Regions from separate parts of the Homo sapiens genome. Here all the other regions are linked to region 4. The links are contacts of gene promoters, found by promoter capture Hi-C in blood cells and fetal thymus (Javierre and others, 2016). All regions are on one chromosome and are shown on one strand. The core of a region is centred on a gene start or on the middle of the fragment in contact, and the rest is flanking DNA. Distances in the headings are between cores, read along the strand shown. Region 1 overlaps MAP3K2 (mitogen-activated protein kinase kinase kinase 2). Region 2 overlaps WDR33 (WD repeat domain 33). Region 3 has its middle 12 kb from the start of SFT2D3. Region 4 holds the start of IWS1 (interacts with SUPT6H, CTD assembly factor 1). Region 5 overlaps WDR33 (WD repeat domain 33).

What was found. The method cuts DNA at HindIII sites, captures the fragments that hold promoters and counts their contacts. A CHiCAGO score of 5 or more calls a contact.
Region 1: a fragment that was not itself captured here is called in contact with the fragment with the promoter of IWS1 in region 4 in 1 of 17 cell types (neutrophils); the score reaches 5.0 in neutrophils.
Region 2: a fragment that was not itself captured here is called in contact with the fragment with the promoter of IWS1 in region 4 in 1 of 17 cell types (naive B cells); the score reaches 5.4 in naive B cells.
Region 3: a contact is called between a fragment that was not itself captured here and the fragment with the promoter of IWS1 in region 4, in 8 of 17 cell types (total B cells, naive B cells, endothelial precursors and 5 more). The highest score is 9.8, in total B cells.
Region 5: a fragment that was not itself captured here is called in contact with the fragment with the promoter of IWS1 in region 4 in 1 of 17 cell types (total B cells); the score reaches 8.6 in total B cells.

Annotation. Positions count from the first base shown.
Region 1 is chr2:127,330,816-127,334,033 of GRCh38, forward strand. The region is part of intron 5 of MAP3K2 (mitogen-activated protein kinase kinase kinase 2); the gene reads right to left. Among named protein-coding and RNA genes, the nearest start is that of ERCC3, 38 kb to the left of the region's middle. The HindIII fragment of the contact is 8,106 bases long and covers 1-3,218 here.
Region 2 is chr2:127,777,612-127,781,023 of GRCh38, forward strand. All of the region lies in intron 1 of WDR33 (WD repeat domain 33), which reads right to left. Among named protein-coding and RNA genes, the nearest start is that of WDR33, 32 kb to the right of the region's middle. The HindIII fragment of the contact is 1,172 bases long and covers 1,079-2,250 here.
Region 3 is chr2:127,687,862-127,691,242 of GRCh38, forward strand. No RefSeq gene overlaps it. Among named protein-coding and RNA genes, the nearest start is that of SFT2D3, 12 kb to the right of the region's middle. The HindIII fragment of the contact is 6,533 bases long and covers 1-3,381 here.
Region 4 is chr2:127,524,813-127,528,205 of GRCh38, forward strand. It overlaps IWS1 (interacts with SUPT6H, CTD assembly factor 1), which reads right to left and starts at 1,677. Exons shown (of 14, transcript NM_017969.3): 1 at 1,363-1,677. The coding sequence starts at 1,396. RefSeq lists enhancers at 887-1,586, 917-996, 1,007-1,066, 1,597-1,656, 1,917-1,966 and 1 more and silencers at 1,247-1,356, 1,998-2,171. The HindIII fragment of the contact is 4,097 bases long and covers 1,163-3,393 here.
Region 5 is chr2:127,746,079-127,749,531 of GRCh38, forward strand. All of the region lies in intron 7 of WDR33 (WD repeat domain 33), which reads right to left. Among named protein-coding and RNA genes, the nearest start is that of SFT2D3, 46 kb to the left of the region's middle. The HindIII fragment of the contact is 2,389 bases long and covers 104-2,492 here.

The sequences.
Region 1 (3,218 bases), core at 406-2,905, 190 kb before region 4:
GCCCCTAAAAAGAATGAAGAAGTACAGACAAAGACCATATGAAATAAAGGTACTACTTTTCTTCTGTATAGATGAAACTCAGTTCTTTTTTCAATAGTAACCACAAATTTGCACTCTCAGCTGGTGTGCTCTTCAACATACCAACATCCTGAGCACCTGCCATGGAGGACAGCTGCCATGGAGGGGTACCACTAGTAACATATCTGCAATCTACAGCCCACCTAGAGTTCTTCTCTCTGAGCCTAGTGACCTGACCACTATACCCTAAAACAAATAAGCTAATGAGTTAACTATTCCATAGTAAACCCTGCATGTGGAATCTGCTTTCACTAGTCTTCTCATGCAGCAGATGTTATAGAGGACAAAAGCACCTAAGAGGTCTATGAGAAAAAGTGTAATTCATACAATTTAAGAAATAAAAATATGTCCTTTTTTTAAAAAAAAAGTCAATTTAGTAACTTAAGAAGACTCTGTCAATAACTTCAAAGTATATTCCATTTCATTGAAGGAGGAACAGAATAAAAACAAGTGAACATATTCTGCACTAGTTAACCTGCTCTACTCAGCACAATATATGAGCCATTAAAATGCAAGGCTGAATTAATTTGGGGTCTCTACAGTATAAATTCTTTGAAGACAAGGACCCCCTACACCAGCAATGAGCAAAGAGCAGACAACCTGGTAAATGCTGTCTAATAAATCTCACAGTGTTAAAAGCTCAATCTGAACCCAAACCCACTAGCTGGCATGGTGTATGTTCATTCTGCAGACTTCTTTGTGAAAAAAGTCCTTGGGGTTTTTGATTTTTTGTTTTGAAATGGAGTCTCACTGTCATTCAGGCTGGAGTACAGTGGCAATCTCAGCTCACTGCAATCTGCCTCCTGGTTTCAAGTGATTCTCCTGCCTCAGCCTCCCCAGTAGCTGGGTTTACAGGCATGCACCACCACGCGTGGCTAATTTTTGTATTTTTAGCAGAGACAGGGTTTCAACATGTTGACCAGGCTGGTCTCAAACTCCTGACCTCAAATTATCTGCCCGCCTGGGCCTTCCAAAGTGCTGGGATTACAGGCGTGAGCCACCATGCCCAGCCAAAAAAGTCCTTGTTATAAGAAAGGCTGCCAAACACGAATATAAAGAAGGATTTATGTGAATTCCATCAGACAATCTGCTTGCATTTACTTACTCTGTTGTTAAAATATATTCCCAATTTCTGTTTGTAGCTAATTTTGTATTACTGTAAGGGACCGACTAACTGGGCTCTTTTCGCTCTATGAGAATTTTTTTCTAATAAAATACAATTATTAACTGTTTGGTATCATAGAACAAGCCTGATCTACTGATCTACTTAAACACATTTCTATTTCCCACCAATTATGAAACATATTGGTATATCTTGCTTCTATCTTCAATAGTCTATTACTTTTCAAGCACTGGAAAACATTTTAAAGCAATGGTAATGACTGTTCCGCCGATTTTTCATTTGAGGGGAAAATCTGAATACTTACTTTTATTATTCATTTATAACTGGATTGTTTACTTCTCCAAGATACTGCTACTTTTGGGGGAAAACAACACTAAGTCAAATGACAGAAAAAAATATGAACATAAATGATTCTGCTGCTCTTCAGTTTGCTGCTGTAAAATGTGAACATCCTGGAGGGGTGCCTGGTGCAGCAGCTTAGGCACTTGCCTACAGACCTAATGTGATCCTGCCTGTGTTCTAAGGTTACCTATTACAAACCGTAAAATGAGGACTAAGAGTCATGAACAAGTCCCAGGTTATCTACATTACACTAAATAAATCAGATAATGTTTTCTGGCTTGGTGAATTCATTTCAGTCTCATTCATGAAATCTATCACCCTCTGGCTTATTTTTGATAAATCAGTTGTTTGTTGATATAAATGCTTTCTAGAAAGGAAACTTAAAATTGAGTTCGAGAACCATTAAACAGAACTGAAATCTGAAAGAACTGAATTATCTTCCTGAATTTACATAGTGAAGTATGAAGACAGCCATTAAAAGGTTCTCCAGGCTGGACGCAGTGGCTCACACCTGTAATCTCAGCACTTTGGGAGGCTGAGGTATGCGGGTCGCTTGAGCCCTGGAGTTTGAGACCAGCCTGGGCAACATGGTGAAACCACATCTCTAGAAAAAATACAAAAATTAACAAGGTATGGTAGTGCATGCCTGTAGTCCCAGCTACTTAGAAGGCTGAGTGGGGAGAGGATTGATTGAGCCAGGGAGGTCAAGGCTCCAGTAAGCCATGACTGTGCCTCTGTACTACAGCCTGGGTGACAGCGGGAGATGCTGTCTCAAAAAAAAAAAAAAAAAATTCCTGCTCTACTCATCTAAAATGGAAGTGATCTTAGAAAATCCTTACTTGGCTTGAACACCTCCACATCCAACCCCCATGACACACACACACATGCACCCTGAACACCTCCACAACCAACCCTCATAACACACACACACACACACACACACACACCCCTTATTAAAGAGAAGCCAAACTAACAAATCCAAACAACCTCAGCTTATATTTCCAGCTTAAATTTCCTTAACGTTTCAATTCTAGCCAACTAGAAGTTTATAGAGTAACAGTTCATTTTGAACAGAGGAATTAATATTACACTAGAAAAATATTTATAGAAGTGGAATAACATGCAGTATAAATGAATTTTTTGCCTGACCACATGTCCACAAAACTAGTAAGACTTTCTTTAGTACCCCCAGTGTCCAAGATCATGCATTTGGTTTGGGACAATATGTCAAGATATGAAACAGGATACGGTTCACTCACAGAATCTCAGGGTTGCAAGAAATCTTAAATGTAATCTTATCCTAATGCCACCCCTACCACATTCCTGCCAAGAGGCCACCAAAATATAATGGTAGAACCACTCACAGAAATCCTTCAGAAAGCATGAGAAAAATAAACTAAAATGGAGCAGTTTTCCAATTTTTAGAAAATGGGAAAAGGTTCTTAAAAATACAGATCAGGCCAGGCGCGGTGGCTCATACCTGTAATCCCAGCACTTTGGGAGGCCAAGGCAGGTGGATCATCTGAGCTCAGGAGTTTGAGACCAGTCTGGGCAACATGGTGAAACCCCGCCTCTACCAAAAATACAAAAATTATCCGGGAGCAGTGGTGCCTGCCTGTGGTCCCAGCTACTCAGGAGGCTGACGTGGGAAGATCGCTTGAGTCCTGGGAGGCAA
Region 2 (3,412 bases), core at 415-2,914, 250 kb after region 4:
AGTCTATACCAACGTTATAATTCTGCTTTTTTGAGACAGGGTCTTGCTGTGTTGCTCAGGATGGAATACAGTGGCACTACCACAGCTCACTGCAGCTCAAGTGATTCTCCTGTCTCAGCCTCCCAAGTATGTGGGACTACACATGTGTGCCACCTGGGCTCAGCTAATTTTTTTCATTTTTTGTAGAGACAGATCTTGCTTTGTTGCCCAGGCTGGTCCAGAACTCCTGAGCTCAAGCGATCCTCCCACCTCAGCCTCTCAAAGTGGTGGGATTATAGGCATAAGCCACTGCACCTGGTCAATTCTGCTTCTTGTCCCAAATGCTCACAAGATAACTTCTTGTATAATCTTAGTCATGTGATGATACTGAAATTATAGCTGAAGATAAAAGTTAAAAATGAGCCGGGTGTGGTGGCTCATGCTTGTAATCCCAAAACTTTGAGAGGCCAAGGCAGGAGGATCTCTTGAGGCCAGGAGTTGGAGACAAGCCTAGGCAGAATAGCAAGACCCCCATCTCTGCAAAAAAATTTTAAAAAATTATTGGCTGGGTGCAGTGGCTCACGCCTGTAATCCCAGCACTTTGGGAGGCCGAGGTGGGTGGGATCACCTGAGGTCAGGAGTTCGAGACCAGCCTGGCCAACATGGCAAAACCCCATCTCTACTAAAAATACAAAAATTAGCTGGGCGTGGTGGCTGACGCCTGTAATCCCAGCTACTCAGGGGACTGAGGCAGGAGAATCGCTTGACCCCAAGAAGCAAAGACTGCAATGAGCCAAGATCATGCCACTGAACTCTAGCCTGGGCAACAGAGCAAGACTCCATCTCAAGAAAAAAAAAAAAAAGAAAAAAGAAACAAACAAAAACAAAAAAACTGATGAGCCCTGACTACCTGCCAGACAATGAACACACACACACACACACATTCTGTTCTCAAGAGTCTGACCGTTTCTCAGTACAGAAGAGCTCAAAAGAACAATGTGAGAAGTTACTACTACACTGAGACACTACTACGCTGTGTGAGAGGCACTATTACAAGGGATATAGCACAGGAAACTTACAGCACCAATCAGCCTTAAGAAGCTTAAATTCTGAGTAAAGTGAGGGAGGCAAGGGCAGGGGGTGTCAGGGGAGAGACACTTGAGAAAAAAAAGTAAATAAAGCTCTCTAATTCACTCAGCATACCAAGGCCAGCATAATTTTTCCCCAACCAAACATAATTCAAAATAATCTTTCACCAACCAAATTTCTGACTACCATTTGAATTATTTTACCATAATAGATCTCCAACTAAAACACATAGGAAAATGACCTAGCTAGCACTCAACTAATTCCTCAGCTTCAATACAAAATGAATTTACTGAATGCTTCATACAAATGAGTAAAAAGAGTTTTAAACTAAGATTCCTGGGGGTAGAGCGAGGCTCTGGCATCAAAAAAATGCTGACATGAAATATCATGAATGAGCCTAAAGCGGTGCTTTTTCTTTAAACCAGAAATCACATCCCATTGATGGTTCCTGAAATCAATGTGGCTGACAAGCAGCATTATTTTAATAATTAAAAAAAAAAAAAATAGGGCCAGGGTGGTGGCTCATGCCTGTAATCCTAGCACTTTGGGAGGCCAAGGCAGATGGATCACTTGAGGTCAGGAGTTCGAGACGAGCCTGGCTAATATGGTGAAACCCCATCTCTACTACATACAAAAATTAGCTAGGTGTGGTGGCGCACACCTGTAGTCCCAGCTACTTGGGAGGCTGGGGCAGGAGAATAGCTTGAAACTCAGAGGCAGAGGTTGCAGGGAGCCAAGATCACGACACTGCACTCTAGCCTGGGCAACAGGGCGAGACTCCGTTTCAAAAAAAAAGTTAAAAAAAATAGAACATATGATAGAACTGCGCATTTGAAAGAACTGTTTTTGTGCAACTACTGTTTCTATTGTGTTTGTGTGTATGCATACAGGGTCACAATATTTACAAAGTATTTTCTTCCTAGGAATCTGTCAATTGAAAGCCAAGGGCTTGCTGTTAGTAACACTGTGAGGTATTCCCTTCCTGTGTATTTTCTGTTTATTATCACCTAATGTCTGCTGCCACTGCATATCCATAGCCAAAGAAGATCACATATAGCATCTGTCCAGTATGAATACTGTGGCTGATCACAGTAGCTATGGTACCAGAATTTGATCCAATTATCAAATCCAACAATTCCTACCATGTCAGCCACTAATCAGAGCTTCCAATCAGAACAAGAAAGCTTGTTTTCCCAAACTGAGATAACAGAATTCTAACCAAAAGCAAATTATTGATGCATTAACTAGCTAGCAATTCATATAGGACTTTTAAAAATAATAAAAAGGTTTTTTTGATTTTTTTTTTTTTTTTGAGACGGAGTCTCGCTCTGTCGCCCAGGCTAGAGTGCAGTGGTGCGATCTCGGCTCACTGCAAGCTCCGCCTCCCGGGTTCACGCCATTCTCCTGCCTCAGCCTCTCGAGTAGCTGGGAATACAGGCCCCCGCCACCACGCCCAGCTAATTTTTTGTACTTTTAGTAGAGACGGGGTTTCACCGTGTTAGCCAGGATGGTCTCGATCTCCTGACCTCGTGATCCGCCCACCTCGGCCTCCCAAAGTGTAAAAATAATAAAAAGTTTTAAGATTCCCACCTCCATTAACACTCCTGACCCCAGGGTCAAAACCTCAGCCTGGAAACCTGTTTTAGATTATTTATGTATAGTCCACTAGGTTCTAAGATAATCAATCTACTCTAAAAGAAATTTGATACCCAATCTGTCATTGAACTTTGAGGGGATCTTCATGAGCGGCAGGCTAGACCAGTAACAAAATGATCAACATGCTCTTTCTCTTCATTGTCCAACTTTAATTAATATGAATCCTGAAAAATCAGGAGAAATTACATGGAGACCATTCAATCTGTTAAAGAATAATCAATGAAGCTGTTTAAATAAGTAGGTTTTGGCCAGGCACAGAGGCTCATGACTGTAACCCCAGCATTTTGGGTGGCCAAGGTGGGAGGATCACTTGAGGCCAGGATTTGGAGACCAGCCAACACAGTGAGACCCTCCTCCTTCAAAAGTAAACTTTCACCTCCAGTCCCGTCTACTCAAAAGGCTGAAGCAGGAGGATCCCTTGAGCCCAGGAGTTTGAGACTGCAGTGAGCCATGATCACACCACTGCACTCCAGCCTGGGCAGCAGAATGAGACCCTATCTCAAAATAATTAATTTATTAATAGCTTTTTATTTTTTACTTTTTGAGAGACAGTCTCACTCTGTTACCCAGGCTGGAGTGCAGTGGCACCATCTCAGCTCACTACAACCTTCATCTCACAGGTTCAAGCAATTCTCCCACCTCAGCCTCCCAAGTAGCTGGGACTACAAGCGTGCCCCACCACACCCGG
Region 3 (3,381 bases), core at 688-3,187, 160 kb after region 4:
GATGATCGCTTGAACCTGGGAGGCAGAGGTTGCAGTGAGCCAAGATCGTGCCACTGCACTCCAGCCTGGATGACAGAGTGAGACTCCATCTCAAAAAAAAAAAAAATAGTGGTGAATTTTGTCAAATGCTTTTTCTATGTCTGTTGAAATGTCCATATGAGTTTTGTCCTTCAGTGTATTAATGTAGTGTATTACAGTGATTGATGTTAATATATTATACCAACCTTGCATTCCTGGGATAAATCCCACTTCAATGTGGTATATAATCCTTTGTATATGTTGCTGGATTAGGCTGCTAGTAATTAGTTGAGGATTTTTGTGTATATTCATAAGAGATGTTGGCTGTAATTTTTCATCCATCTCCTTTGTGCTGTTACTGTTAAATAACATTTTGACAAAATGTTGACACATATTACATTCCTATATGTGCATAGCCCATAAAAAGTTACATGCATATTTTCTTATGCAATTACTTTTTAGATCAGTTAAGAGGAGAAGAAGAAATATGCAATTATACTTTATATTGTAATTATCTACTTTTACCAACACTTTTGTTTTTCATGTGGATTCAAATTAGTTTCTGGTGTCACTTGCTTTCTATCTGAAAAACCTTAAATATTTCTTGTTACTCAGGACTGGTAGCAATAAATTCAGTCAGATTTTATTTATTTTGGAGTGCTTTTTATTTTGCCATTATTGTTGAAAGATAGTTTTGTTGGGTATGGAATTATTGGTTAACAGGTTTTTTGTTGTTGTTTTGTTTTTACTGTTAAGCACTTTGAACATGTCATACCACGGCTTTCTAGCCCCCATTGCTTCTGATGAGACATCATTTGTCAATATTATTGTACTACTGGTACACAATGAATTGTATTCCTTTTGCTGCATTTAAGATTTTATCTTTATCTTTGGCTTTCAAAATTTGACTATAATATGTCTGAGTGTGAATGCCTTTGTGTTCATCCTACTTGAAATTCATTGTTTCTCAGATGTTTAGAATAATGTTTTTCATCAAAGTTGGGGAAATTGGTCAGGCACAGTGGCTCTTGCCTTTAGGTGATGAGTAAGCTCAGGACTTTAGGAGGCTGAAGTGGGATGATCATTTGAGGCTAGGAGTTCAAGACCAGCCTAGGAAATACAGCAAGACCCTGTCTTTACAAAAAACTTGAAAATTAGCTGAGCATTGGGGTGCATGCCTGTAGTCCTAGCTACTTGGGAGGTTGAGGCAGGAAGAATGCTTGAGCCCAGGGAGTCAAAGTTAGAGTGAGCTATGCTTGTGCCACTGCCTTCCAGGCTGGGTGACAGAGCAAGACTCTTTCTATAAACATGATAATATTAATAAATTTTAAATAAATAAGCAAATAATTTGGGGAAATTTTCAGCCATTGTGCCTTCTAATAATTTTTATGTCCCTTTCTCTCACTTCTCTCCATTATTCTTATGTGTATTAGTCCATTTTTACATTGCTATAAAGAAATACCTGAGACTGGGTAATTTATAAAGAAAGGAGATTTAATTGGCTCACAGTTCTGCAGGCTGTACAGGAAGTGTGGCAGCATCTGCTTGGCTTCTGGGGAGGCCTTAGGAAACTTATACTCATGGCAGAAGGTGAAGGAGAAACAGGCACATCTTACATGGCCAGAGCAGAAGGAAAAGAGAAGGAGCAGGGAGGTGCTACTTTTTTTTTTTTTTTTGAGCTGGAGTCTCACTCTGGCCTAGGCTGGAGTGCAGTGGTGCAATCTCTGCTCACTGCAACCTCTGCCTCCCAGGTTCAAGTAATTCTCCTGCCTCAGCCTTCCAAGTAGCTGGGATTACAGGCACCCACCACCATACTCAACTAATTTTTGTGTTTTTAGTAAAGACAGGGTTTCACCATGTTGGCCAGGCTGGTCTTGAACTCCTGGCCTCAGGTGATCTGCCCCCCCTTAGCCCCCCAAAGTGCTGGGATTACAGGTGTGAGTCACTGTGCCTGGCCCAGACTTGTAAATGACCAGATTTTATGAGAACTCACTATTATGACTAAGGAGGATGGTGCTAAACCACTGGAAACTGCCCCCATGATCCAGTCACCTCCCACCAGGCCCCACCTCTAACACTGGGAATTATAATTTAACACGAGATTTGGGTGGGGACACAAACCATATCATTTTGCCGCCGGCCCCTCCCAAATCTCATGTCCTTCTGATATTTCAAAATATAATCATGCAGTCTCACAAAGTGTTAACTTATTCCAGCATTAACTCAAAAGTCCAAAATCTCATCTGAGACAAGGCAAGTTCCTTCCACCTATGAGCCTGTAAAATCAAAAACAAGTTAGTTACTTCCAATGGGGGTACAGTCATTGGTTAAATACTCCCATTCCAAAAGGGAGAAATCAGCCAAAAGAAAGGGGCTTCAGGCCCCATGCAAGTTCAAAACCCAGCAGGGTAGTCGTTCAATCTTAAAGGTCCAAAATAATCTCATTTGACACCATGCCCCACATCCAGGGGACACTAGTGTGAGAGCTGGGCTCCCAAGGCCTTGGGAAGCTCTCCCCCTGTGGCTTTGCAGGGTTCAGCCCACATGGCTGCTCTCAAGGGATGGTCTTGAGTGCCTGTGGCTTTTCCAGGTGCAGGATGCAAGCAGCCAGTGGATCTACCATTCTGAGGTCTGGAAGACAGAGGTCCTCATCTCACAGCTCCACTAGGTAGTCCCCCAGTGGGGAGTCTGTGTGGGGGCTCCAACCCCACATTTCCACACTGCCTTAGTAGAGGTTCTGTATGAGGGCTTTGCCCCTGCAGCAGGTTTCTGCCTGAACATCCAGGCATTTCCATACATCCTCTGAAATTTAGGCAGAGGCTCCCAAGCCTAAACTCTTGCATTCTGTGCACCTGCAGGCTTAACACCACATGAAAGTTGCCAAGTTTAATGGCTTGCACCCTCTGAAACAGTGGCCAGGGCCCCTTTCAGCCAGCTGGAGCTGGAGCAGCTGGGATGCAGGGAGTAGAGTCTCAAGGCTGTGCAGGGCAGCAGGGCCCTGGGCCTGACCTAGAAAACCATTCAGTCCTCTGAAGCATCCAGGCCTGTGCTGGGAGGGGCTGCCACGAAGGTCTCTGAAATGCCTTCTAGACCTTTTCCCCATTGTCTTGGCTATTAGCACTTGGGCTCCTCTTTACTTATGCAAATTTCTGCAGCCTGCTTGAATTCCTCCCCCGAAAATTAGCTTTTCTTTTCTACCACATGGCCAGGCTACAAATTTTCCAAACTTTTACACTCTGCTTCCCTTTTAAATATAAGTTCCAGGTTCAGGTCATTTCTTTGCTCACACATATGAGCGTAGGTTGTTAGAAGCAGCCAGGCCAATCCGTAAACACTTTGCAGCTTAAAAATTTCTTCCACCAG
Region 4 (3,393 bases), core at 427-2,926:
AGTAACTTAAAAACACAAATGAATGGAAAAAAAACTATTCTGAAAGTATCAGGAAAGTGTTTTTTTGTTTTTGTTTTTGTTTTTGTTTTTTTTGAGACAGAGTCTTGCTCTGTCGCCCAGGCTTGGAGTGCAGTGGTGCAACTTCCGCTCACTGCAACCTCTGCCTCCCGGGCTCAGGGCTCAAAGGATCCTCCCACTTCAGCCTCCTGAGTAACTGGGACTACAGGTGTATGCCACCACACTCGGCTAATTTTTGCATTTTTTTGTAGAGACGAAGTAGGGGGGTGGGGTAGGGGCGTAGGGGGGTGGGGTACGGGCATGGGGGGTGGGGGTGGTGTTGGTCTCACTATGTTGCCCAGGCTGGTCTCGAACTCCTGGGCTCAAGCCATCGGCCGCCTACGCCTCCCAAAGTGCTGGGATTACAGGCATAATCCACCGCACCTGGCTTAGGAAAGTGTTTTTAAGCAGTGCATGCCTGGAAAACGCTTTGCAGTCATTAGAATTCACTGTCCTACGTAAGGAAAAGCAATGAACTCAAAACAGTAAAGGGCTTAACGCTTAAACAATTATTTAAGCACTCAAGTTTTCTTTTTAATTTTCAATTTTTGTGGGTACATAGAGGGTGTATTTATTTATGGTGTATTTAAGAACTTTTGTAACAGAACGCCCCAACAGGACTAGCACACAAAGGGAAAGCAAATGCGACGTGTTTCCCACACCAGGTTCTGCCTCACTTATCCTTAATCTCAGGTGCCAAGCACCGTGCCAGCAGAGTGGGCCCCAGTAACAGCTTACAGAATAAACAAACAGTAAAGAAAGGAGACCAAACTTCGGTGAGGAGGAAGAGGAACGATCTCAAGGTGGAGGAAAGGCACAAAAACCACCAGTAAGTGCCAGAAGCGCATTCCTTACTCTATGCATGCAACTGAAACATGGGTCCTGCACTTACGTCCGGTGTTGCAAGCAAGATTAAACCACTCCTAACTAGCAGTGAAAAGTCTAGGAAGGATCCCCCGCCCCAACGCCCCTTGGATTCTCCAACTACTCAACTACTGAAAACTCTCTTAACAGAAGACACCTCTCCTTCCCTGCACACAATAGGAGCTTAACATATGAAAGTGACTTCCCAATTTCAGCAAAAACCTTCGCCGATTCAGAAGAAAGCTTTCCCACCAGAATCCCCTCTCCAACGTTCTAGCTTCGACGCTTGCAGCTGGTCAGAGGGCTCTTGCCCTCCTCGGGCCGGGTCGCGGGAGGGAAGGTTTCGGGGGGCCTCCTTGCCCCCACCCGCGGGGTGCCAGGCCAAGCCCCGCCGAGTAACTGCTCCGCCTCCCAGCCCGGTCCCCCAGGTCCCTGCCCCACCTGACTGGTCGCCGCTGTAATATTCCGAGTCCATGGCAGGCGGACTCTCAGCGGGGAGTGTCCGCGCCCCGCGCCGCCCCCGTCACCTCCTTCCAGGCGGTGTGACCCCGGATGGCGCGGCTAAGTGTTCAGAGACTGCCGCCCGACCGGAGAACTTAACGGGTGCGGAGGGTAAGAAAGCGGTAGCGGCAAAGGCGAATTCTTTGACCTGGAAGCCCCGGCGGAAAAGGCCGTACCCGGCAGGCTGGCGGGCGGGCAGGCATGCGAGCCGGCGTTCTACTTCCTAGAAGCACCGCTGGGGCCAAAATGGCGTCTGCCCACGACCCTCAAAGGAATGCAGCGCGCAGGCGCCGCAACCCGTCAACCGGCCAATGAGAAGACGCAACAGCAATGACGCCAGGCACGGCCGGAAAGGAGACTCCTGGGAAAATTGAGCTGGAACTCGGGCTTTAGTTAAATACCTTCCTCGGGTGGATCCTGGTCTGACCCCCGTGGTAATAACGTTATCATTGATTCTTTATCATTTCCTAGATTCTGTGTCCGTGCCTTGTTTGAAGAGCTTTTGAGATACTCTTCCGAAAAATGAAGACCTGCTCAAATGACTTTTCCGTCATTCAGCCAAACCACTGTCTTTCCCGTCAGGCCCAGAGGCGCCTGGTTCCCGCCCGCAGTAGGCAAGAAAGCGGGCGTTGCTCACTGGGACTTGTAGTATGACGCCCGCGAGCTGTGATGCGTTACTAACTGGCGCGATCCACAGCGCCTCCTCTCCCGGCGTCTTCCTCTCTTTCATTCTAAACAACGATTTAATTTCCTTGTTAAGAAGCCATTTAGCCAACAGTAAGAAGTACACGTCTTTGCTTCCAGAAGGGTTCCCCTGATGAAACACCGGAGGAAGGTGAAGTTGAACTTTACCTGAGCCCTGTGTTCCTGGAAAACAGCGGTGATTAAGAAACCCCCTCATCTATTTGTGTTTCTGGAACGGCACACTGTAAAGAACCACCCGTCTCCATGTGACTCAGATAAAACGCGTGCAGATGACCCCCTTGTTTGCCTGTGACAAGGCCAGAGACCTTTCCCCTTTATTCTGAGCCTGTTAATAAAGCCAAACAGACCTTCCAAATTCCCGCTGATGATATCGAGTGATTAGTTGAGATTAGAACTCTCCTCCCCCCAACTTGTTAGACACAGAGAACATTTCCTGTTCACCTGACTGAAACTTCTCCTGATTGCAAAACAATCCCAACTGTCAATCATCCCACCTTCCTCCCTATAAAAGTCAAAACTACGCTGCCAAGACACTGATCATATCTGGAGTGCTCTCCCTATTGCAATAGGCTGAGTAAAATCCATTTCCTTACTTGTTCATTTTAGTCTTGGACAGAGAGGGGAACATTCTTGCCTTTGGATCGGAGGAGGGCCAGTAGAGGTTTAAGCAAAGACTCCCCAGGAGGTGTAGACATGTAGAAAAAGAGCCTTTTGTTACTACTGCAGATATCTGACCCTTCGTTAGCCAGTCAGAGTATGCTGGCAGAGCCCAATTATAGGCTCCTGAAGAGGACGTGGGAAGAGAAGAAAGGGGAGAAGTGGTTTCTCTCTGGAAATTCCCATTTTCCTGCAAGAGAGTTCATGGATATTCCTTTCCGAAGTGGTGGAAACAGCATTGAATCCAAATTCCTTCTTTTCAGCTGTGGGAATGACATCTTCTCAGGCAGTCTTGAGAATCAAAAGAACAAAGAATTAGCAATGCCCGAAACCGAATCACTTGATAGAAGATATCAAGGCTCTAAGCCCTCTTCTAAAGAGAAGGTGAGAGTACACCTGTGTAAATGGAGCAGGATTAATAGATCAAAATTCCAGGCGGAGGTTCAGTGGAAGAGAACCTTTTAGTTTCACCAGAGATGTAAGTCCAACAGTCAGGAAAGTGGTTGGGTTATAAACAATGCAATTGCCGGATGAAAATTACTGAATTTTAGCGTTAAAACTAACTGTACTGGTGGTTTGGAGAAAGGATAGAAACACTCTGGACACACA
Region 5 (3,453 bases), core at 48-2,547, 220 kb after region 4:
ATGAAGAGAACAACTCTAATGCAGGGTGTGAAGGATTGCCTTCTGGCACTCCTGTGGTTCTGAGATGATAGTGGAAATAAAATATGAGGACTTACATAAATAAAGCTTTAAAAAGAAGTCATAGTTCTATTTCAATATAATGTTATCTATTTAAATGTGGCTTACAACTTTATCAATCACACTTCTAAACCTAAAAATCACTACTGAAAAGATAATCATATTCCAATACTAATTTTTGATCCAATAATCTCCTCCCATAAATACCTTTCCTTAATACCTTTAATACCTCTCTTTTAATACCTTTCCTACTCAATTCCAATCTCCTCTTAAATCAAATTAAGTAAAATATGTTATTTTCTTTACTCCTATCTTGTCTTTTAGCATCTTTCCTTGATATTTATGACTTTAGCAACAAACATTTGCTTCATCCTGCACTGTGCAGAGTATGTCTGTGGTCCTCACAACAGCCCTGTGAGGTAGGTATCATTAGCTCTCCTTTACAGACGAGGAGAGGCAAGCTGAGAAAGACTTGACTTGCCCAGTGGCAAAGCGGGGATTCAAAGCCAAACTTGCTGACTCTCAGCTGAGTGATGTTTAAAGTTCCCCAGAGGAAATACGGAGATTGTGCCAAGCAGAAACTACCACTGTAACTAGAATTTTGGAGCAGCTAAAGAGGAGGTTTAACAACATTAATAATTTCTTCTTTGTCACTTAACCACTGTAAACAGTAATTACACTATATTCTTCTATCATTACATTTTAAAGTTAACAATACACAATAGTTACCCTTCTTTTTATAGAAAAAATACTTATTACAAATAGACTTGCACTCATCATTGCCTATGAAAAGACACAGTAAACTGGTACTATTCAGCATCAATTCTGGTAAATGGATGTTATTTAAAAAAATGTAAATATACGATTATAGAAGATGATCAAAACCAGTGAATTTTGTGGAGATCACCAAAGTGAGTTTCGCCCAAACAGATTTAGTTTCAAAATACAAAGCCTTATTTTCAAGGCACTTTAACCAAGAGAATACACCACAAATCTATGTGTCTAAATTATATGAAAATTAATTCTGGCATCTACACAATTTAGACACAGGCACAAATGGTATTTATCTACCAATCCTGAAATCTGTGGTAACTCTGGAATATGCTGTTTTTTCCATACGAAATTATGTACTGTACCTAATAAATAAAATACAAACAACAGTTTAACATACAGTGTTTAAAACCTAAAATGAACAAATATTTCTGTGTGAAATAGTCTTTAGGAGAAAAATCTTATTCTGAAAACATTTTATCCTCAGTTTGGTCCAAATCAACAATATTTTAGGGCTACCGCTGCTCTACCGAAAAAAAAAAAAAAGTAAAAACTTTTACAATCTAAAACCTTTATTTAAAGATTTTGAGGTTCCCATGAGCACTCAACGTTAGCATAAAAGCAACTATGAAGATTTCAATGATGATACATGATGACATTCTCTATTTCTATGGGAAAATTCTATACGCCAGTGGCAAAACTAGTGGTACTATCTGAAGAGGCTGCTTTTGCCTATAATGTATCCTGCTTGTCTAATGCTGGTTAACATGCCACCAAATTCTCCCCAATTGCTCCGTTTTGTAAAAACATACTGCTGGCATCATTTCAGCTGGTTCCAACCTGTGCCTGCCGAGCATGTCGCTGCTACTAAATCCTGACCTCAAGTCTGTCTGGATTTCAATATGTTCAAGAAAGTAAAAAGCAGCAGCCCCTGACCTCTGAGAACTAATCTGATGTTCAAGCTAAGCCTTGGTGTTACTACAAACTGTTCTGACATGTACAGCTTAAACATTCCACGCTCCTGTTGGACAATCTCACTGAACGTCAATATCAAAAGTAGTCACTCCAAGACCATGGCAAAGTGAGAAAAAACTAGGTCACTGTACAACCCACAAAATACAAAATTCTCTTTCTTGCTGAATGAGTGACAGCTATTTCTTCACCAATTACAGCTTTAACCTCAATCTACTTGACCCCCTCTATAAGATCTGTTGATACCCAATCATAGAATTGCCTCTGTTTTCCGACAGCACCCTATCTAGAGCAAGCCCTCATGTCCTTAGACCTTCCCCCCAAAATTATCCAAAGCCCAAATCCTATAATACATTATAACACCCTGTTACTAGGACACCCCATGGTTCCCTGCGGTCTGTGTTCTTTGCTGCAATGAGCAATAAATCCAACCTGCTCTATGACAGGTGTACTCCTAGTGGTCTTTAACTGAAGGGTATTCACACTTGTAAATACTAACAGTGAAATGAAAATAGACTAAATGTTCTAGGCTTAGAAAATGACTCTAAAACTATAATTCACAGGGAGGGCAGCTTTGGATGATGCTGGTGTAAGATTTCTTCAGTTTTGCTTTTAATGTCAAGACCATGGTAAAATGTTTTAAATGGCTCAGGTAAAGTAAAAAGCATTAAAAACTGTTAAAGCAGAGGAGAAGCTTTTACAGCCAAATTGATCAAGAGAATAAGCAGGAGTTAATCAAGGATCATTTCAATTGGCGGCAGCACATCCAAGTATCTGGGTTATGTCTAGATTTAGAGGTACTTTAAACAAGGGATGCAGGAAAATGCTCATCAACAATAAAGCTGAAGCTATAAGGAAAACATGAAAGTGAGTAATATCTTTTTTCCTGAGACAGGGTCTCATTCTGTCACCCAGGCCTGGGTGCAGTGGTGCATGGCTCATTACTGTCTCGATCTCCTGGGCTCAAGTGATCCTCCTAACAGGGCCTCCTAGGTAGCTGAAACTTAAAAAAAAAAAAAAAAAAAAAAGTGCTCACCTTAACTACTGGAATTATCTGGATAGTATGTTAGCTGTGAGAAGAAAATAAAGCAAGATTTTCATATGCACTCTTTTGATGAAAGATTTTTAAAATTTCTATAAGTATTAATCATATCTACAAGTACAAAACCAAAAATGTGGCCGGGCTTGGTGGCTCACGCCTGTAATCCAGTACTTTGGGAGGCCAAGATGGGAAAATCTCTTAGCCTAGGAGTTTGAGATCAGCTTAAGCAACATAGTGACATCTTGTATCTATTAAAAATAAAATAAAGTTAGACAGGCATAGTGGCATGCAACTGCAGTCCCAGCTACTCAGAAAGCTCAGGTGGATCGCATAAGCCCAGGCAGTTGAGGCTCCAGTGAGTTGTGATCGTGCCACTGCACTCCAACCTGGGTGACTGAGTGAAACGGTCTCAATAAAACAAAACAAAATAAATAAAATGATGATGAAGAAACACCATAAGGGCAGGTGTGGTGGCTCGTGTCTGTAATCCCAGCACTTTGGGAGGCTGAGGCAGGTGGATCACCCGAGGTCAGGGGTTTGAGACCAGCCTGGCCAACATGGTGAAACCCCGTCTCTACTAAAAATACAAAAATTAGCTGGGCATGGTGGCA